Linked DNA regions of Homo sapiens: regions 1, 2, 4, 5, 6 and 7 are each linked to region 3. The links are contacts of gene promoters, found by promoter capture Hi-C in blood cells and fetal thymus (Javierre and others, 2016). All regions are on one chromosome and are shown on one strand. The core of a region is centred on a gene start or on the middle of the fragment in contact, and the rest is flanking DNA. Distances in the headings are between cores, read along the strand shown. Region 1 has its middle 43 kb from the start of EPCIP. Region 2 overlaps PAXBP1 (PAX3 and PAX7 binding protein 1). Region 3 holds the start of LINC01548 (long intergenic non-protein coding RNA 1548). Region 4 has its middle 25 kb from the start of EPCIP. Region 5 overlaps EPCIP (exosomal polycystin 1 interacting protein). Region 6 overlaps EPCIP-AS1 (EPCIP antisense RNA 1). Region 7 has its middle 4.3 kb from the start of EPCIP.

Region 1 (2,827 bases), core at 165-2,664, 310 kb after region 3:
CAGAGGTTTCTGGCCAGAAAAGCGGCACCTCAATGATCCCATAACATTTTCTCTGAGCTACCTTTAAAGATTTTAGATTTTGTAAAAAGTGCCTACCACCTCTGAAAATGCCTTGTACACTCATGATTAAATCAACCTTAGTTGAGGTTTGTTGGTTTCACCTGTGAGGTTAATTTTGGTAAAGTTCAAAAGTCAGAAATATCAGCTGCTTGGCATGGCTAAAGTTGGGTAATAAGGGAATTAAAAGAATTTTTTAAAGAGTGCTACAGCTAAAAGTCACCTTAATTAAAAGTGGATATCCAAGCTATATGTACATTTGAAAGGCCTTTATGCTTTTTTTTTTTCTCTTCTTGGATCTTGTTTTGCTGGAAAAAGTTTTCTTTCTTCTCAGTCACCTGAATTATTTTTCTCCATTTTGTCTTGCCACTCTTTTGTTGTTGTTGTTGTTTGTTTTTTTCTTGAGACACAGTCTTGCTCTGTTGCCCAGGCTGGAGTGCAGTGGCGCAATCTTGGCTCACTGCAAGCTCTGCCTTCTGGATTCACGCCATTCTACTGCCTCAGCCTCCCGAGTAGCTGGGACTACAGGCGCCCATCACCATGCCTGACTAATTTTTTGTATTTTTAGTAGAGATGGGGTTTCACCGTGTTAGCCAGGATGGTCTCGATCTCCTGACCTTGTGATCTGCCCACCTCAGCCTCCAAAAGTGCTGGGATTACAGGCGTGAGCCACCGAGCCTGTCTTGCCACCCTTAATGCACACATGAGAGGCCCTAAGACAACTTCTGATAGCCTGGGATGGCTTGGGAAAAACAGAAAAGGTGCCATGGACCCCATTTTGGGCAAAAACCTGTGTTTTCCTCATGGAACACCAGGAATTAAAAGTGGATAGAACCCTCTCAAAATCTGTATTTGTCTTCCTGCTATGCCTGTTTATTAGCCCTAGAAACTGCATGCTTTCCTAGCCCTGCTCTTGAAGGGCTCCACCCTGAGGCCAGTAATCAAATTAAGAAACTGGCAGATGAAAAATCTTACAACTACTGGATCTTCTTCTGTCTGTCTGTATAAAAAGGAGCTCTAATTAATTGGCTTAAAGAAAATAAAGGCTTAGATCAAAAATTTTAAAGGAAAAATAAAAGCTGTAATGCCATTTAGTTCACATGACTTTAATCTTTGAGAAATAAAAACAGTTTTAAAGATTATTGGTAAAATACAAATGTCTTCAAAATGTAAACATGTGGTCTAAATTATGTTCAGATATTAGGTTTGCTAAATGCTCTAAGGTCATAAACTGCTTCTTTGGATTTTGAAAACTGTTCGGCTTGTCTGCTTTACAGTTTGGTAAGGCCTTGGGACATGTGGAGTTAACTATACCTCTTACTATACTGGAAAGTGTCAGATCTTAGCTGCACCTAGTACATAATTAAAACAGCTTACCAGGTTTTACACTAAAATTAAAAATTGCTAAGAGTTACCATTATAACACATAATTGGGACTACTAAAAATAGATTTACATGCAAGGTGTGTAAAGAAAGTAAAATATATTTTTGGTAAAATATTATAAGAAGGCATGGGAATATAAATTTTTGCCTAGTTTAGAGGGTTAAAGAATTGTTTTAAATCAGATAAGATAAAGCTAAAGGTTTAAAGAAGTTGTGAAAGGTTGGTAAAAATTAATCTTGTAAAAGAAACTTCATTTGAGATCAACTAAATTCAAAAGGGTATGATTTGGTTTTTCCGTAAATCAAGCATTGGAATTAAAGCATAACAGGGTTTTCTTAATGTATTGATCTGCTCTTTAACAAAAATTTGTAAAGGGTTATAAAAGGTTTATAGGAACCTCACCTCATGGTCAAACTGGTTAAGATTGGATAGAATTATCTATAAGGTTTCAAATAAAGGAGGGAGGAAGACAAGACAGATTGTTTGGAAAGCTAAGTCTTCCCTCTTAGTATGTAAAGGTTTTTGCCTTTTTAAAAATGTTTTAAATCATTATTTTGGCTAAATAAATGACTTGTGGTAACCTGGAATTCTATTGCATAATATCAAATGTTTTAAACCTTTAACATGTTTGTAGGCTTCCCCAAAAATCAAACTTTAGCTTCAAGGTTGTCTTTTCTAGCCCCTAACTTTTGGATGCTACAGAGGGCCCCTGGAACATCCAAAAGAGAGGTAAACAGGATTATTTGACATGTTTAGTTACATGGGATTGCCAAAATAAAAATAACATTTAATTTTCAGGTTCTATTTTGGTGAATAATATTAATGTATGTTCCAAAATTGCATAGGATTTCTAAAATTCTAATGTCTGAGTATATGTTATCAATCATAATTAAGGTTATTATGTTAAGTTATTGTAAACCATACAAGTAGCCAAATTTCTCTGTCAATCAAGTTTTTAACTGTAACTAGCCTGAACATTTTGTCATTCACAGATAATTGTTGTCTTGTATTGTTCCTTTTCAAAAGATGGTTGATAATCAGCTATAGAACTTTGACAGGTGCTCTTAAATGCAGGTTCCTGATATCTTTGGAGATTGTGACATTGGAATAAAGGAAAAACATTCAGGACTCATGAAGAGCTGAAATGTTCATGAATATCAAGCAGATATTGGACTGAATCAATAGAAAACTGAAGTAATGTTTTCAAAATTTTGCTTAAAACATTGCTGATCCTTGTTTTGTTTTTCAGAGTCAAGGAATCTTTTGAGCTATCTACAACTTTTAACAATTGAGTAAGGTATACTACTGTGAACAAAATTTGGAGCATATTTGTTTCTCTCTGCCTGGTTTCTCTAGAATTTGGAAACTATTTGCGAGTATCCTTAA
Region 2 (2,746 bases), core at 11-2,510, 430 kb after region 3:
GGTTGTAGGTGTGCGGTCTTATTGCTGAGTTCTCTATTCTGTTCCATTGGTCTATGTGTCTGTTTTTGTATCAGTACCATGCTGTTTTGGTTACTGTGGCCTTATAGTTTGAAGTCTGGTAGCATGATATCTCCAGCCGTCCAGTTTTTAGTTGTTTGCAACCAAAGGTTAAATCCAGTTCTTGTTTCTCTTATCATAGCTGGAAGCAGAAATAGCCACTATTTTAGTATTTGGGTAACCTTTTAAATGTCTTTTAGGCAAAATGTCGTGACTTTGAGAATATGCTGTGGTTTGAATCTTTGCTGTTTTATGGTTGTGAAGAACGAGAGCAAGAAAAAGATGATGTAGATGTTGCCCTACTACCTACCATTGTGGAAAAGGTGATTCTTCCTAAACTAACAGGTAAATCTCCTGTTCTCTGAATTGAGCATTCAGACACACTGGCTTTCTCAAATCTATTTTTATGAGTTTATAATTCAGAGCATGTTTCCTTATAGAAATTACATGAGAAATAATAGTTACCACCTGGCCCAGAGATGGCTAGAGGGCAGAGGGGTTCTTATCCTGGGACTTGAAGACCACTTTAGGGTGGGCCTGTAGTTGAGTGCAGTAATTGCTTCATAGGTGAGGTTTAGAAATTCAAAGACTGACTGAAGCAAAATTATACAGAGTTTGAGGGAGGAGGATATGCATTTATGTGGGGAGCAATTAAAATGCTTTCATAAGTTCCTCAAAAAAGATTAGGAATCATTGATACAGGAATCTATTTTAAATACTAGAAATGTTAGTTTGAAATTCTTGATGCCAAGACAACATTTCTACAGAAATCCTCTTTTTTCCTAATCTTTATTTTCCCTGAGTACCAGAAATAAGAATAATCTATCCTCTCTCCACATCCCTATCCCTCCAAATTCCCACAGTTAATAGGACAAAGAAGACTAAAGCTTATATTGTAGAAAAAGAGGAAAAATAAATTAGGATTGGCATTAATAGAGGTCTGCTTGACAAAAAATTAAAGGTACAATTGGCTTCTGTGTCTCAATCCTCTTTTTTTCTTAATAGTGATAGCTGAAAATATGTGGGACCCTTTTTCTACAACACAGACTTCAAGAATGGTGGGAATTACACTAAAATTAATCAATGGATATCCTTCAGTAGTGAATGCAGAAAATAAAAATACACAGGTAATTTAGTATCTTTTGAAGCCTTTTTTTTTTTTCCTCTTTCTGTTGAATATGAGCAAGCATTGAGAGAATGAGTGGTTATCCTAAACCAATCAGAAATCTGGTTCTCCCACTTGGGCCATCAGGGCCATTAAAGCCTGAAATACACAAAATTTGAGATGTTAGGTTTTTTTTTTCTTTTTTTTATACCTAGTCCCGCAGAGAGATGTTAGTTTTCAGTTTAAAAAAATCAATATGGAAGGAAGATGTCATCATTTTAAATAGCCTTTCATTATGATTTCTCACCACCACACCTCAGTCCCAATCCAACTAATCAAATGTCCTTTTAAAGACTGTATTTTCTGGGGGGAAATGAGAAACCAAAATGTTAACAATTGATAATTTAAGCTTGTCCAACCCGTGGCCCATGGACATGTGGCCCAGGACGGCTTTGAATGCGGCCCAACACAAATTTGTAAACTGTCTTAATACATGAAATTTATGCACAGACCCCGCCCCCCTCCTTTTTTTTTTTCTTTTTTTTTTTTTTTTAGCTCATCAGCTGTCATTAGTGTCATTGTATTTTATGTGTGGCCCAAGACAGTTCTTCCAGTATGGCCCAGGGAAGCCAAAAGATTGGGCACCCAAACCATTTAAACAGCATATAAAACAACTAGATACTGTTTTATAACTAGTTGCCAAACTTAAAGTTAATGCTCTTCAGGGGCCATTCATAGAAGCTGTTTAAATGTAGAGAAGGTGGGTGCTCTTTGTCATTGTTGAATTTTCACTTTGAGAGCTAGATTATGTGTCTGGTCTTAAATCTTTATGTAGACTAAGGAATTGAAAGATTTCTAAAGCTTTATTGCTTGGCAGTTGTTGAGGAATGAACTAATAGATTATTAAGTATTAATTACTTTAGGGTCTTCAATGAGGAAAATTAAAAATTTGAGAAACTAGTTCACTCAGTTCAATATTCAGTTACATGATTTGGAATATGGCTTATTTTTCTTGTCATAGTCCTTATTAAAATGTGTGATCTACTTTTAACTTTTTAGGTATACCTAAAGGCACTTTTATTGAGAATGAGAAGAACTTTAGATGATGATGTATTTATGCCCTTATATCCCAAAAAGTAAGTAACTCTGAAGAACATTAAAGATAATATTCTCCATTGTGTTTCAGAGAAGGCTTATAAAATTCTGAAAAACTAGCTTGAAATACAAACTTCACCCATGTAGTGTATTACAGAGAGACTAGATTAGTGGCGAGATTGTTCCCTTAAGCAGAATAAAACAATACTCTTACGTTCTCCCTGAGTGTCTCAGAATAAATTTCCATTGCCTTTTTAACATACTATCTTCCAGAATGCAATTATTTGAAAAATTAAAAATTTATTTTGTTTACCTGTTTTGTAGAAAAATCTTTTGTCCAGGAATCATATGGCACCTACATATAAAATATCTGATCATGATATGTTTCTCTTTTTTTTACTTAGTGTCTTAGAAAATAAAAATTCTGGGCCTTACTTGTTTTTTCAACGACAGTTTTGGTCTTCAGTTAAGGTACGTGTCCATAGACTA
Region 3 (2,945 bases), core at 38-2,537:
AGTGCCTTTTCATGGGGCTGTAAGGCAGCTGTCACGAGGTAAATCCCACTCTTTACCCCGCCAGCAGGACAGGTAGGGACAGGTGGGAGGAATACGGGAGGAAACAGCTCCCACTGGTGACTGCCGGACCCTCTCCTCGCTGGCCGCAGACCCTGGAGCCACTTCCCTACCGTATCCAGAGCAGGCCCAGCCCCCGACAAAGGGACCTTTATATGGTGGTCCTGGAATTTTAGTTGGGTTCCCGTAAATGCAGACCCTGACAAGGTCTTGGGCACAGGAGGTTTATCTGAGGGGACTCCAGGAAGCAGGAGTCAGGGAGAAGGAAGCAGGAAACAGAAGTAGACGTCATTACTGAGATTGCTGCTGGAGGCAACAGGGGTCTTGAAGGTAAGAAACATGTCCTTACGGGAGAAGCTGCCTTGGTGGGTTTGGAAAGTGTGAAGAGTTCGCAGGCGTGCTCATCATCAACTAAGTGGACAGGTGAAAGCTGGAGGGGCTCTGCAGAAGCCCTGAGTTGCACTAAAATCTGTACTAATCCAAATAGTGGGTCTAGATTCCCTCTCCTACTCAAAATGACTTTAACTCCTCCAATTTAGCAAATATTGGTTGAACATCTCCTACTGTATTTAATGGAATGTAAGAGATCATTGACTATAAGGCACGCCATTATTTTAAGAGGCTCTAAGAAAAGAGCTTCCAACTCAGCTATGACACTCTATGAAAAGTAAGACTTTCCTAGGTCAGAAGCACAGAAGTGTAAAAAGAATGTTGGTCTCGGGATGGGTACCATGTGCACTGTAGCTTAATGGGCATAGTGGGGCATTGTGACATAGAAACTGCCCTTGCTCCCAGCAGAGGAGAAAAAGCGTGTAAAGCAATGTCAGTGATAACAAGCAAAAATAGGACAGGGGAGAAAGCCAAGAGTCTTCAGACCACAAGAGAAGGAGAGATTAATTCTGGTAGGGAGGTATCAAGGAGGCCTTCCTGGATGAGGGGGTGGCATCTGAGCTGGGCTCAGGAAAAGGTGGGGCTTGAACTATTGGGGATGAAGGGAAAGGCATTCCCGGCAAGTGGGAACAGCACAGGCAAAGGCTCTGAGAGGTCCTAGAAATAAAGTTATTGCACTTCAAGGGGGTTGTAAGATTTATGGGTGAGGATAAGGAAAAAGTAGAGAATTAGAAAAGCAGTGAACTTACCCCTTTACCCAGAAATCCCCCTCCTAAGTGCATGGCCAAGAGAAATTTGCCCTCAAGTGCACCTTTTCCCTTTAGGAAAATCCACCTGGATGGACAGCAGCAGAGGGAGGAGGAGGCAGGACAGACCAGAAGAGAGACAATGAGGTTCTGAACCTAGATGTTGGCCAAGGGAGCAGAGGAGGGCAGGTGAATGGCGCTATAGGGGATACTGTAGCAGGAGGGTTGACTGGACTCAGCAACTGGGGAGGGAGTAGGCAAAAAGAGAGCCTGGGAACTTAGGACAAGAAGCAGGGTATTTTTTTTTTTTCAAGGGAGAGGTAAGCAACAATGATTTACTTGTTCTTACACATGGAACTCTCCAGGGCACTACACCTGCATTTAAATCACTTGGCTCCTGGCACATGGCTCTCCTCCCATTTCTCTTTCTGTCCACTCCCTCTTCATTTGTCCTCTGCCCTCTTCGTATGACTGTTCCTTGGGGCCCTGTCTCCAGGTCAGGAGGCCCTCGCCCTGCAATCACCCTTCCTGGGAGCCTTCACTTCACCTGTGATCTCAAGACCTCTCCCTACTGCCTGACTCGCGCCGAGCTTATGGAACATCTTCCCTTGAGGGTCGCAGTCCATTCGATGAGGTATTTTCCCCATGAAATCCCTTATCTTTGGGAACCTCTTCTTTTCCTTGTGCGTCCTATGTGGGTGGATGGAGAACCACTCTCCACGTGGTTACTCGGTCCAGAAGGGCGGCTGTCTGTACAAATGCGCCTCTTCCTTTCACTTCCTCTATCCAACCAGCTTCTTCTGCCCACCTCCCTTTCATGCTCCTTTCACGCTCCTTTCACATGCTCTTGGCTCACCGTTTTTTTCTTTAAGTTTTTAGAGACAGGGTCTCGCTCTATCACTCAGGCTAGGGTGTGCTGGCACGACCATGGCTCACTGCAGCCTTGACCTCCTGGGCTCAAGCTATCCTCCTGCCTCAGCCTCCTGAGTAGCTGGGACCACAGGCACGCACCACCATGCCTGGCTAATTTTTTATGTTTTGTAGAGACAGGGGTCTCTTTCTTGCCCAAGCTGGTCTTGAACTCCTGGCCTCAAACAATCCTCCTGCCTTGGCTTCCCAAATTGCTGGGATTGCAGGAGTTTGCCACTGCGCCTGACCTGGCTCGCCTTTTTTGCTCCTGGGCGTTGCTCTGACAACCGCAACAAGCTGTCACCTGACAGCTGTGGCAGTGGGTATCTGCTGTGGCAGGCTTTCTGTCCAAGCCTGCGGGGACTTGCTTAGCTATACTGGCTTGTGTGTAAACTTGGAAGCTCAAGGGAGGTGGCTTTCCTTGGGGGAAAACTTTGACCAATAGGGGCAGGAGCTGATGAGCTCATCTGTCTTCCATCCATGTCTTGGGTGGACAATTCTGAGGCATCTTTCACACGCTTCCTCAGGGGGTCTCCAGGGGATCCAGTCCCAGCAGCCCATGGAGGTAACCAGGCCAATAACACCACACTGGGATGCTTCTTTCTCCTCCCACTATTTTTAAAATTTTTAATTTTTAAAACTTTTTGTTGAGATGCGGTCTCCCTGTGTTGCCCAGGCTGGTCTTGGCCTCCTGGCCTCAGGCGATTCTCCTGCCTTAGCCTCTCAAAGTGCTGGGATTACAGGTGTGAGCCACCACACCAAGCCCACCTCCCTCTTTCACTCCTCCCAGCCCCCATTGCTGTTACTTGGCATCAATTCCTAAACAGCCTGCACATCAGCCCT
Region 4 (2,750 bases), core at 124-2,623, 330 kb after region 3:
TCAGGGAAACCCCTGAGTCTGAGGCAAATCAAGACAGTTGGCCACCCTGCATAGAGTCATAGAAGTGCATGGTTAAAAGAGACCCTGGAGCCTCATACAACTCCCTCATTTTTGGCCCAGAGAGGTCAAAGAGGCAGCACAGCAAAGAACTCAATGTCTTCTTAATAAATGATGAATAAATCTATTGTCTCGTCATGTGAGTAAAATCACCAGAGATTATTAAATGTAAACATGGTACGAGACAAGGACTGGCACCAGAGTGAGGTGATGTGGGATCTAATCCTGGCTCTGCCACTAAATGGGGACCTTGGGTAGGGGAGCTCTGACCTGCCAGGTACTATACACCGATTATTTCATTAATCTGAATTATACTCCTTTAAAGCAGGATTAATATGCCTGTTTAACAGATGGAAGAATGGGCTCAGAGAAATCAAGTAACTAGCCCAATATCATAGTAAGAGCTAAGATTCGAAGGTCAGTTACTCTGACACCAAAGCATATGTTGTTGCCAAAATAGCCCCTACACTGGTACAAAGCTGATGGCAAATCAGCTGCTTGTTGCTCCCATGAAGGACTCATCAGATGGGAACGGCAATTGGAAGAGATAATTTTTTTTCCATTTCTGCAATGCAATTAAGGATATAATAAAATCATCACAGAATGCCCAAATGATTGATAATTGAGAGACTAGTACCAAGTCTACTTCCAAGAAAGATTTAGATTAGCTAGTGCATGTATTTAACCTGAGCTCTCTTTTCTGTTTTTTAATAACAAACTCAGCATCTGATTGATTTTAAGCTTAAGTTCACCAGTTTCTCATATCCACCAAATCAGAAGATAAACTGTATGAGGATAAGAATTTTGTTCACTGCCATAACCCCGGGGCACTTATGCTTGCCATGTAGTAGGTTTGCAATCCATATCTGTTGGATGTAAGAATGAATGAACAAATGAAACAAATTCAAAATTCAACATAGGAATGTTAAGTAATCTTATTATGTATATATACATGTGATAATTTATTTAAAAGTTGATTGAGCACTCAATACAGGAGGTAGAAATAAGGGAAGTAAAGATTTATCTGCCATGCAAATATTAACCAAAAAATTATTGGATGGATAAACTATAAGGATCAAATTGATCTATATATTTTTAATTTTTATAGATTAGAGCTTTTTTAGACTAAAGGGGGTTAGTAGAAGGTTCCTGTGATGAAATAAAGAATCCTTTTAGCAAAATAATAATGATCATAAACTCATTTTTCTAAAACAGTTGAGGATTTGCTTCCAGTGAAGGACTCTTTTACGGTAACTTGAGTCTCACTTTCCTTTGTTTATGTGGTGACATACATGTAGGAAGCAAAAAGCTGAATGCTTTTCTCTTTTGTTTTTTTTTGAGACAGGGTCTCACTCTGTCACCCAGGCTGGAATGCAGTGGCACAATCATGGCTCACTGCAGCCTTGACCTGCCAGGGCTCAGGTTATCCTCCCATCTCAGCCCCCCAGGTAGCTGGGACTACAGGTGCGCCACCACACCTGGCTGATTTTCATATTTTTTCATAGAGGTGGGATTTTGCCATGTTGCCCAGGCTGGTCTTGAACTCAGCATATGTTATAAACATAATTTCTCTGATAGTAAGGATGATATATGTGGGCATTCAGTACTAGGGGTTTGGGGTTTATGGGTGAATGAAGTTTTATATCACTTACCATGCTCTATGCTCCTTAAACTAGCTAGTGCTTGAAAATGGTATTACCATACATATCTTCAAATATGTATATTTGACAGTGGAGAATAAAAAAGAATAAATCACATAGCTTTAAAAATGATGTCAAATACAGCTTCAGCCTTTAAAACACATTTTAGAGGAAAAAAATTAACTATTATATAGAGTTAATCAAAATAAAACAACTTCTTAGGTTTGATAGCAGATCAAAAGTAAGCTTAAAAGTAATATACAGTGTTTAACATTTATGTGTAAGTTTAGTGGTCTGAGAAATAACTTTCCAATTGTACGGCCACTCTGTATTAGACATGATATTAAGGTAATGATGGAATATGTTCTTTCTTTATGGATACAAGGGATCTATTACCATAAAGAATGAATTAAATCTGTTACTATATCAAGAAAAACAGTGCATAAAATACTAATGCTACAAGAAAATGTGTCTCAGCCGGGTTAACAGATGGGTGAAGTGTGAAGGCAGATAAACTCTGCTTCTTTTGGCTTAGTCTTTATATCTCCCTACAACTATAACTAATCCTCTTTATTTGAACAATTTCAAAGACTCTAATTTTACACACATGGCATGCATACAAGAGACACACTTTTAGTTCCTGCCAGCAGGTAATTAGAAGCAACAAAAAGGTATGTCTTGATGAAGAATTGCCTCACTGCCCAAGCCACCACTTCAGCTGATCCAACAGAAATTCATCCTGTTACAGACCACTGCTCAGAGGCAGAGAAGGTCTGGTTTGCAGAGGAAAAAAAAATCATCCAGCCAATCAGACTTGAAATTGATCAATTCATCCCATTATATTTATGTACAGAAAAAGCCTATTAATTTTTGTATAACTAACTTTATAACCAGGTACTTAGTCATATTATTTCTAACAGCTTTTCAATTGATTTATATGGATTTTAGAGATATATAATGATGTAATCTGCAAATAATTTTCCCCATATTTACAGCTTTTTTTCCTCTTATCTAATTGCACTGGCCAGTACTCCTAGAACAGTATTAAAAAAA
Region 5 (3,123 bases), core at 602-3,101, 370 kb after region 3:
CCTTACATCACAGACTAATGCCATTAAGGGGGAAGAGGGGTGTGCTCTCTTTCATACAATCATTCAGGGATTCAGCCTTTTGTCTACAGTTCTGCCATCTTCTAGGGCCGTCGGTTCCTTCGTGGAATCTTCCACCATATTCCATTGGCCAGAACTCAATCACATGGTACCACTTCACTACCAGAAGCTCAGAAATGAAGTCCAACAGTGTGCTAAAGAAGGAGAGGAGAACATGGCATTCACAGGGACTAGAAGTCTCTGATATACCTAGGTTGTAAGACGCAATAAGTAGCTTGATGCAACCATGACAAATACTCAGGGGATGTCTACACATCCAAATTTTTCAGTCAAGATGCTAAAAACTGTGCATGTTTTTTTTTTTTTTGGTTTTTTTTTTGTTTTTTTGAGACAGAGTCTCACTCTGGAGTGCAATGGCGCGATCTCAGCTCACTGCAACCTCTGCCTCCTGGGTTCAAGCGATTCTCCTGCCTCAGCCTCCTGAGTAGCTGGGATTACAGGCACATGCCACCATGGCCAGCTAATTTTTGTATTTTTAGTAGAGACAGGGTTTCACCGCATTGGTCAGGCTGGTCTCGAACTCCTGACCTCGTGATCTACCTGCCTTGGCCTCCCAGAGTGCTGGGATTACAGGCGTGAGCCACCACACCCGGCCTATGTGCTTACTTATTAAATATTTGAGCCTTTGTGCATGATTATTAAATATTTGAGCCTTTAAATCACTGGACATGTTTAAAAACCAGAGCTACTATTCAGAATCAGTTTGAGTATTATTTTTGTATTGCAGCTGAAGAAATCTCAAGAACAATACTAGCAACTAGCTGCATAAAGACAGAGGGTTCTAAATTGAGGAGATACAGACATCAGTTACTTCAAAACAAATTCCACACAGATTCCTTCTCAATCTAGGATTACACCCAACATTTAGATAATGTTTATACTTGGCTTCAAAAGGAATGTTTCAAACTTGACTAGTTCTGTTTATAAGAAGATATTACTAGTAAGGAGATATTGTGTCAGTGGGAGGACAGCATTTGGAGCATTTGCCCAAAACAGATTTGAAATGTCATAAATAATGATGTTCTGAGCTCTATAGTCCTAACACAAAAGACAAATAACTAATTGTGGAAAAATCAAGTGACATTCTCCAAATCCTTATAGCAATTAAAAATCAAAAGCAATTTAAAAACGTAATTTGGAAGTGAGCTTAATTTGAAATCAAAAGTGGTTTTTATTTTATTATTTGAGATAGAGTCTCACTCACTCTGTCACCCAGGCTGGAGTGCAGTGGTGCGATCTCGGCTCACGGCAACCTCTGCCTCCCGGGTTCAAGGAATTCTCGTGCCTCAGCCTCCTGAGTAGCTGGCATTATAGGTGTGCACCACCACACCTGGCTAATTTTTGTATTTTTAGTAGAGACAGGGTTTCCCCATGTTGGCCAGGCCGGTCTTGAACTCCTGACCTCAAATGATCTGCCCCCCTCAGCCTACCAAACTGCTGGGATTACAGGTGTGAACCACCATGCCTGGCTGTGATTTTTATTTTTAAAGTGGAAATGCAATTAGGGGAAAGACTCAAGAGAAGAAAATTGTGAAAGGCTCAAGAGTCAGAAGCTGAGAAGATGCCCTGGCAAGAAGCAGTCTCAAGTATAGATCTGAGTTATGGCTCTGGGGTTAAAGCCAGAAGAAAGCTAGGGCCCGGGCACCCCAAGGAACACACTGTGAAGCCAGGACTTGGAGAGGTAAGCAGGGCTATTGCTCACAAATGCAGTACCCAAAGTGTGTCCCTGCAAAAATCCTTGAAGATTCTTGGGTGGTAAAATCGAGGGGCCCTCCAGTAAAGGAGCCAATTTGAAAATCTGAATATATCCCACAAAGTCAGACATATATCTGCACTCTTAGAGGGCATTTTATCAAAGTGGTGCTTTAGTGTTTGCTGAGACTGAGAGGAGTAGAGTTGCAATGCTCACCCATGCTCATCCCATGGGTCTTGTGGGCACCCACCTTTCTGACTGCCTACCTGGCCCTTTTCTGATAGCGCCTCCTGATTTCCCTTTGCAGAACCATCCTTCTACCCTCTCAGTCCACTCTTTGCAGTGGGGCTGATCCCATTCATTGGCTCCCAAGCTGAGTGTACGACTCAGGAGTCCAATGTATTTTTGCCTCCTAATATTTATTTATTTACTTATTTGGTTATTTATTTCATTATTATTATTATTTTATTTTTTGGTTGCAAAGTCTCACTCTGTCACTCAGGCTGGAGTGCAGTGGCACAATTTCAGCTCACTGAAACCTCTGCCTCCCAGGTTCAAGTGATTCTCCTGCCTCAGCCTCCCTGTAGCTGGGATTAAAGGCACATGCCACCCTGCCTGGCTAATTTTTGTATTTTTGGTAGAGACAGGGTTTCGCCTTGTTGGCCAGAATGATCTCGAACTCCTGAGCTGAAGCGATCTGCCTGTCTTGGTCTTCCAAATGCTGGGATTACAGGCCTGAGCCATTGTGCCCAGCCATATTTATTTATTCATTAGAGATGGGGTCTCGTTCTGTCATCTAGGCTGGAGTGCAGTGATACAATCATAGCTCACTGCAGCCTCAAATGGCCTAAGAGTTCAAAGCCCAGTGAAATCACAGCTCACGAGGGGTACTTGAGAGAAACTAGGGGAGGAAGTTTTAAGACACAGTCTCCAGCAGAATAGGCTGTCATGAACCCGTGGAGTAAGAATTGGGGTTAGGTCATGAGGAGAACAGGTGCCTTTGCATATCATCCCTCCCTCTGTCAGTCACCCTAGGCAAGAAGCCATCCAGAGAGACTCCGAGGCCAGGGACTGAGTGTGCTCACACACCTTGCCCTGAACCTGCACTTGTGTCCCTATTTCTGCCTGTGCAGCCATAGCAGATACCACAACAGGGTGGCTTAAACAACACCGAATTCTCAGACTCAAGTGATCCTTCTGCTTCAGCCTCCCGAGTAGCTGGGACTATAGGTGCACACCATCATGTCCAACTAATTTATTTTATTTGTAGAGATTATGTCTCACAATGTTGGCTGGGCTGGTCTTGAACTCCTGGCTTCCCACAATCCTCCTACCTCAGCCTCCCAAAGTGC
Region 6 (2,805 bases), core at 274-2,773, 390 kb after region 3:
GCAATGGAGCTGAAAAATTCCTATCATCTAGTGACATCATAGCAATCATAATACTGTAGCACAATACATTACTCATGTGTGTGGTGATGCTGGTATTAAGAAACCTCTGTTTCAGTGGTATAAAAGTATAGCACATACAATTACATATACCACATAAAACTCCATAATGATAATAAATGACTATGTTACTGGTTTATGTATTTGCTATACCAGTAGTCCCCAACCTTTTTGACACCAGGGACTGGTTTCATAGAAGACAATTTTTCCATGAACTAGGGGGTGGAGGATGGTTTGAGGATGATTCAAATGCATTACATTTACTGTGTACTTTATTTCTATTACAATTACATTGTAATATATAATGAAATAATTATACAATTCACCATAATGTAGAATCAGTTGGAGCCCTCAGCTTGTTTTCCTGCAACCAGATGGTCCCATCTGGGGGTGATGGGAGACAGTGACAGGTCATCAGGCATTAGATTCTCATAAGGAGTGCACAAGCTAGATCCCTCATGTGCAGAGTTCACAATAGGGTTCGTGTTCCTGTAAGAATCCAATGCTGCTGCAGATCTGACAGGAGACAGAGCTCAGGTGGTAATGCGAGTGATGCAGAGTGGCTGCAAATACAGATGAAGCTTTGTTTGCTCACCCGCCGCTCACCTCCTCTTGTGCAGCTCGGTTCCTAACAGGCCACTGACTGGTACCAGTCTGTGGCCTGGAGGTTGGGGACCCCTGCTTTATCTTATTTCTCGCATATTTAGTGAGGCCTCATCAGTTGTTAAGGCCCAGCTATTTATCTTCCCCCCAAATGTATATATTGAAACACTAATCCCCAGTGTGATAGCAGAGGAGGTAGAGATGCTGGAATGTGACTAGGTCACAAAGGTGGAGCCCTTATGAATGGGATTAGTGCCCTGGTAAGAAGCTGAAGAAACCACAGTTGTCTCCCTTCCACCATGTGAGGACTCAGCTAGAAGGTACCATCTATGAACCAGGAAGCAGACCCTCACCGGAACACAAATCTGCCAGTGCCTTAACCTTGGATTTCCCAGCATCCAGAGCTGTGAGAAATAAATTTGTTGTTTATAAGTCACCCAATTAATGGTATTTTGTTGTAGCAGCCCAAATGGACTAAGACATCAGCTAATGTATATAGAATATTTTTTACATATTTATTGGCTTTGTGGCTTCTAACATTTTAAAAATAAACTTAAAAAAAGAGAGAGAACAATGTCTACCTTTGGCCACTTGCCTCCTGCAGGGGTGGGAGGTGGTTGGGGACGCCTATACTATACTTTTTACTGTTATTTTAGAGCGCACTCTTTTTACTTACAAAAAAAAAAGTTAAGTATATAAGAGCCTCAGGCAGGTCCTTCAGGAGGTATTCCAGAAAAAGATATTGTTTTTATAGGACATGATAGCTCCATGTTTGTTATTTTTCCTGAAGACCTTCCAGTGGGACAAGATGTGGAAGTGGAAGACAGTGACACTGATAATCCTGACCTTGCGTAGGCCTAGGCTGATGTGTGTGTTTGTGTCTTAGCTTTAAAGTTTAAAAAGTAAAACAAAATAATTAAAATGGTAAAAATAGAAGATATTTTTGTGCAGCTGTAAATGTGTATTTTTTTAAGCAAAGTGTTATGCCGGGCACGATGGCTCACGCCTGTAATCCCAATACTTTGGGAGGCTGAGGCAGGTGGACGACCTGAGGTCGGGAGTTTGCGACTGCCTTGACCAACATGGAGAAACCTTGTCTTTACTAAAAATACAAAATTAGTTGGGCGTGGTGGTGCATGCCTGTAATCCCGGCTACTCAGGAGGCTGAGGCAGGAGAACTTCTTGAACCCTGGATGCAGAGGTTGCGGTGAGCTGAGGTTGCACTACTGCACTCCAGCCTGGGCAACAAGAGCAAAACTCTGTCTCAAAAAAAAAAAAAAAAAAGTCAAGAAGTTTTAAAAAATGTCTGGGCACGTTGGCTCATGCCTGCAATCCCAGAACTTTGGGAGGCCGAGGTGGGCAGATTACTTGAGGTCAGGAGTTCAAGACCAGCCTGGCCAACACAGGAGCTTGTGGGGTGTGCGGATCATCTCTACTAAAAATACAAACATTAACTGGGCATGGTGGTGCACGCTTATAATCCCAGCTACTTGGGAAGCTGAGGTGGGAGGATTGCTTGAACCTGGGAGGCAGAGGTTGCAGTGAGCTGAGATCACGCCACTGCACTCCAGCCTGGGGATAGAGTGAGACTCTGTCTCATTGCTTGAACCTGGGAGGTGGAGGTTGCAGTGAGCTGAGATCGCGCCACTGCACTCCAGACTGGGTGACAGAGTGAGACTCCATCTCAAAAAACAAAAACAAAACAAAACAATAACAACAAAAAAGTTTTAAAAAATAAGAAAGCTTATAAAGTAAAAAAGTTATAGTAAGCTATTTATTATTGAAGAAAGAAATATGTTTAAACATTTAGTGTAGCCTAAGTGTACAGTTGTTTATAAAATCTACAGCAGTGTACAGTAATAACCTAGGCCTTCATATTCACTTACCACTCACTCACTGACTCACCCAGAGCAACCTCCAGTCCTGTAAGCTCCATTCCTGGTAAGTGTCCTATACAGGTGCACCATTTTTAAAGCTTTTATGCTGTATTTTTACTGTATCTTTTCTATGTTTAGATACAGATACCATTGTGTTACAAGTGCTACAGTATTCAGTACAGTAACATGCCGTATAGGTTTGTAGCCTAGAAGCAATAAGCTATGCCATACAGCCTAGGTATGTAGTAGGCTACACCACTAGGTTTGT
Region 7 (3,075 bases), core at 395-2,894, 350 kb after region 3:
AGATGAGGCCATCACTAGAGAAGAAACGCAGGAGTTGGGAAGGGCTGCTTTTAGCTCACAGGTAGAAGAATTTATTTTAGAATCTGGAAAGAAGAAAGAATGTGGCTTAGCCTGATTTTCCCAGAGAGTAGAACATCAGAAAAGCATATATATACATATATGCAAGCACTGTATTGGGAACTGCTATCCCTAGAAGCAAGAGTGAGGGAGAGGGAAGCGGTGAGGGGCAGCGCAAGGTAAGTTACTGCTTGATTCTGTGAACCACCTGAGAAGCCACAAGGCACGCATCTCAGGACTGTCTGCCTGGATTGAGAAAGGAGGAATCCCCCATTGGTCAAAGGATCACTCCATGGAGGCATTAAGTCCCCGGAACTTCAGGTTGCATTCATGAGACTACTAAGGAGTGTTTGCAGTGTCTGTCCCAGGCTGCAGAGATGACAGAGAAGGCTTCGGATGGGAGGTGAGAGGTGCTTGCAAGTTAGTTCTACATGCAGCTGGTCAGGCTCATGGCAGAACTGTCACTACAGTGGCGGCTGGAATCAAAGACAGGTGTGGCTGAAAGGAGCTGAGGCAGTGCTTACGAGGTGTCTGATCCAAGATGTTCATGTTCTAAGGAGTATATAGGTGTGAGCAGGATGGTAAGAAAGCCCTGGTACGATTCCTGGCTCCTCTCAGATGCAAGGCCTTCTCACGAGGCCAGGGATGCTGTGACAGCAGTGAGTATCTGACACAAGTGGAGAAGAGTTATTGCAGCCACTGGGCCAGAACCGCTGGAAGACTTCCGGGATCACATCAGGGGTTCTCAGGAAACCAAGCATTAGGAATTCTTAGTTCTCTGCATTTTCTCCATGAGTGCCTGTACCCTAAAGTGGATGCTGAGGAAGCAGACCATGAGAGGACCCAGAGTGGACTTTGCAGAGGGCAAAGGTCATAGGTAGGGGTCACCTCGGTAGGGGTCAGGGCAGTGTGGATGCAGCAGGGCAGGGAGCTGAGGGTGGATGGAAGAGGTAAAGCCAGAGGCGCTGATATCTAGAGACACTGTGAGGATGGAGCAGGGAGAAGGAACACACATAGAGCCCTGCACAAGCTCTGGGGCCCAGCAAGGCCATGAGGTGAGGACATGAGTGCTGACGGCCTGCAGTGAGCTGAGAATACAGATGTTAAAGTTGCCAAAGAAGGAAGGGGAAGGGAAGTTGGGAAGGAAAGAGAGACCCTGAGATGACTCCTGCCCCAGATGGAAGAAACACTTATAGAAGACACTGGTAGTGATTTGGAGGCAGTTAAGTAGGGGGTGGTAGAGAATCCAGATGAGAATCCATGAAGAGAGGGTGTCAGAAACAGTGGAATTTGAGGCCTTGTGGTAAAAGATTTTTTTTTTCTTTTTCAGAGACAGGGTCGTGCTCTGTTGCCCAGGCTGGAGTGCAATGGCGCGATCTTGGCTCACTGCAGCCTCAAACTCCTGGGCTCAAGAGATCCTCCCACCTCAGCCTCCTGAGTAGCTGGGACTATAGGTGGGCACCTCTACACCTGGCTAATTTTTTATTTTTTGCAGAAACAGGGTCTCACTATGTTGCTCAGGCTCGTCTCAAACTCCTATCTTCAAGTGCTCCTCCCATCTCAGCCTCCCAAAGTGCTGGGATTACAGATGTGAGCTACCATGCCAGGCCCAAGGTAAAAGATTTTAAGGAACACGTTAGTGAACAATCAAGCAAGATTTGCTTCACTGCAGACTTACACCAGACATTATTTCCAGAAGATCAGTTGTAGAGGGGGGTGTGGATTTTCACTTTTGCTTAATACATTGGATATTATCTGAATGTGCTATCAGAAAAACTGCATTGCTTTTATGATAAAAAATAAAACGGAGAAAGAAAACAAAATTGGTCAAGGACAAAGCTAGAATTCCATCTCATTGTGAACAAACACTTGTCCACCACCCGTTGGCTCCACAGCTGAACAAAACAGGCAGTCTGAGGTGTGGTTTTATTAACCTTCCCAATACTCATTGCTGCTAAATCAACTTAAACTATGTGACCGGTTAACACAAAGAGCCAGTGGAAGTAAATGCTTTAAAAAGACAGGGAGATATAAAACCTGGGGTAAATGTTTAACATGCCATACACAGGGCCCCAGCCACATTCCATCAGCAGCTGCATGTTTGGCCTTCAAGTTTCCAGGGAAGTACCTGGCTCTTCACACTCTTTGCCTTCAGCCAGGAACCCCACTAAGCAAGAGGTCCTGGAAGGCATCCGAGTCATAAATAGAGAAAGTCACAAAGAGTAATCAATATAGTAGCTACCATTACTGGCTGCCTTATTTGTGCTCAGTTTACACTAAATACCTTATGCTGTTTATCTTAGTCATTAAAATAAAGAAGTAGAAGAGACAGTACCAGCAAACTTCCACTTACCTTGTATAGTAGGCCATTCTCGCCTTGCTATAAAGAAATACCTGAGACCGGGTAATTTATAAAGAAAAGAGGTTTAATTGTCTCATGGTTGTGTGGGCTGTACAGGAAGCATAGCAGCATCTGCTTGGCTTCTGAAGAGGCCTCAGGAAACTTACAATCGTGGAGAAGGTGAATGGGGAGCAGGTGTGTCCCATGGGGAAAGCAGGAGTAGGTGTGGGGAAGTGCCACACACTTTTAAACAACCAGATCTCATGAGAACTCACTATCGTGAGGACAGCATCAAGCATTCATGAGAAATCCACCCTCATGATCCAATCATCTCCCACCAGGCCCCACCTCCAACATTGGGGATTACAATTCCACATGATATTTGGGCGGGGACATATATCCAAACTCTGTCACCTTGTATTGGACAGAATTAAGGCACTAGTATATAATTCAGGGTTCTTGGTTACAGGCAACAGAGTCTACTCTAGCTGGTTTAAACCAGGAATTTCTTCAGATATACAGATACTGCCTTGAGTCATTGGAAGGACTGAAGAAATGGATTCTAGACTGAACTCTGAAAGTCACCATAGAATTGAACCATCATGGGGAGCTACTACCTCATCCACAACCAGGAAGTTGCTGAATTAAGAGGCCACATTCTCCAACAGGAAGTTAGT

What was found. Contacts are between HindIII fragments. The CHiCAGO score rates a contact against its expected background, and 5 or more counts as called.
Region 1: a fragment that was not itself captured here is called in contact with the fragment with the promoter of LINC01548 in region 3 in 12 of 17 cell types (M1 macrophages, M2 macrophages, M0 macrophages and 9 more); the score reaches 12.0 in M1 macrophages.
Region 2: a fragment that was not itself captured here is called in contact with the fragment with the promoter of LINC01548 in region 3 in 1 of 17 cell types (M1 macrophages); the score reaches 5.5 in M1 macrophages.
Region 4: a contact is called between a fragment that was not itself captured here and the fragment with the promoter of LINC01548 in region 3, in 17 of 17 cell types (M2 macrophages, M0 macrophages, M1 macrophages and 14 more). The highest score is 32.8, in M2 macrophages.
Region 5: a fragment that was not itself captured here is called in contact with the fragment with the promoter of LINC01548 in region 3 in 9 of 17 cell types (M1 macrophages, M0 macrophages, M2 macrophages and 6 more); the score reaches 10.9 in M1 macrophages.
Region 6: a fragment that was not itself captured here is called in contact with the fragment with the promoter of LINC01548 in region 3 in 3 of 17 cell types (M1 macrophages, M2 macrophages and M0 macrophages); the score reaches 7.8 in M1 macrophages.
Region 7: a contact is called between a fragment that was not itself captured here and the fragment with the promoter of LINC01548 in region 3, in 9 of 17 cell types (M2 macrophages, M0 macrophages, M1 macrophages and 6 more). The highest score is 10.4, in M2 macrophages.

The regions. Positions count from the first base shown.
Region 1 is chr21:32,855,241-32,858,067 of GRCh38, reverse strand. No RefSeq gene overlaps it. Among named protein-coding and RNA genes, the nearest start is that of EPCIP, 43 kb to the right of the region's middle. The HindIII fragment of the contact is 3,094 bases long and covers 1-2,827 here.
Region 2 is chr21:32,743,230-32,745,975 of GRCh38, reverse strand. PAXBP1 (PAX3 and PAX7 binding protein 1) reads left to right here. Exons shown (of 18, transcript NM_016631.4): 12 at 258-402; 13 at 1,063-1,184; 14 at 2,222-2,298; 15 at 2,662-2,728. Among named protein-coding and RNA genes, the nearest start is that of PAXBP1-AS1, 16 kb to the right of the region's middle. The HindIII fragment of the contact is 627 bases long and covers 947-1,573 here.
Region 3 is chr21:33,168,578-33,171,522 of GRCh38, reverse strand. It overlaps LINC01548 (long intergenic non-protein coding RNA 1548), which reads left to right and starts at 1,287. Exons shown (of 4, transcript NR_024102.1): 1 at 1,287-1,382; 2 at 1,690-1,827; 3 at 2,942-2,945. RefSeq lists an enhancer at 2,006-2,075. The HindIII fragment of the contact is 7,514 bases long and covers 1-2,945 here.
Region 4 is chr21:32,836,946-32,839,695 of GRCh38, reverse strand. No RefSeq gene overlaps it. Among named protein-coding and RNA genes, the nearest start is that of EPCIP, 25 kb to the right of the region's middle. The HindIII fragment of the contact is 1,145 bases long and covers 801-1,945 here.
Region 5 is chr21:32,798,086-32,801,208 of GRCh38, reverse strand. The region is part of intron 3 of EPCIP (exosomal polycystin 1 interacting protein); the gene reads left to right. Among named protein-coding and RNA genes, the nearest start is that of EPCIP, 14 kb to the left of the region's middle. The HindIII fragment of the contact is 8,647 bases long and covers 1-3,123 here.
Region 6 is chr21:32,774,754-32,777,558 of GRCh38, reverse strand. All of the region lies in intron 1 of EPCIP-AS1 (EPCIP antisense RNA 1), which reads right to left. Among named protein-coding and RNA genes, the nearest start is that of EPCIP-AS1, 4.1 kb to the right of the region's middle. The HindIII fragment of the contact is 1,765 bases long and covers 641-2,405 here.
Region 7 is chr21:32,816,454-32,819,528 of GRCh38, reverse strand. No RefSeq gene overlaps it. Among named protein-coding and RNA genes, the nearest start is that of EPCIP, 4.3 kb to the right of the region's middle. The HindIII fragment of the contact is 6,390 bases long and covers 1-3,075 here.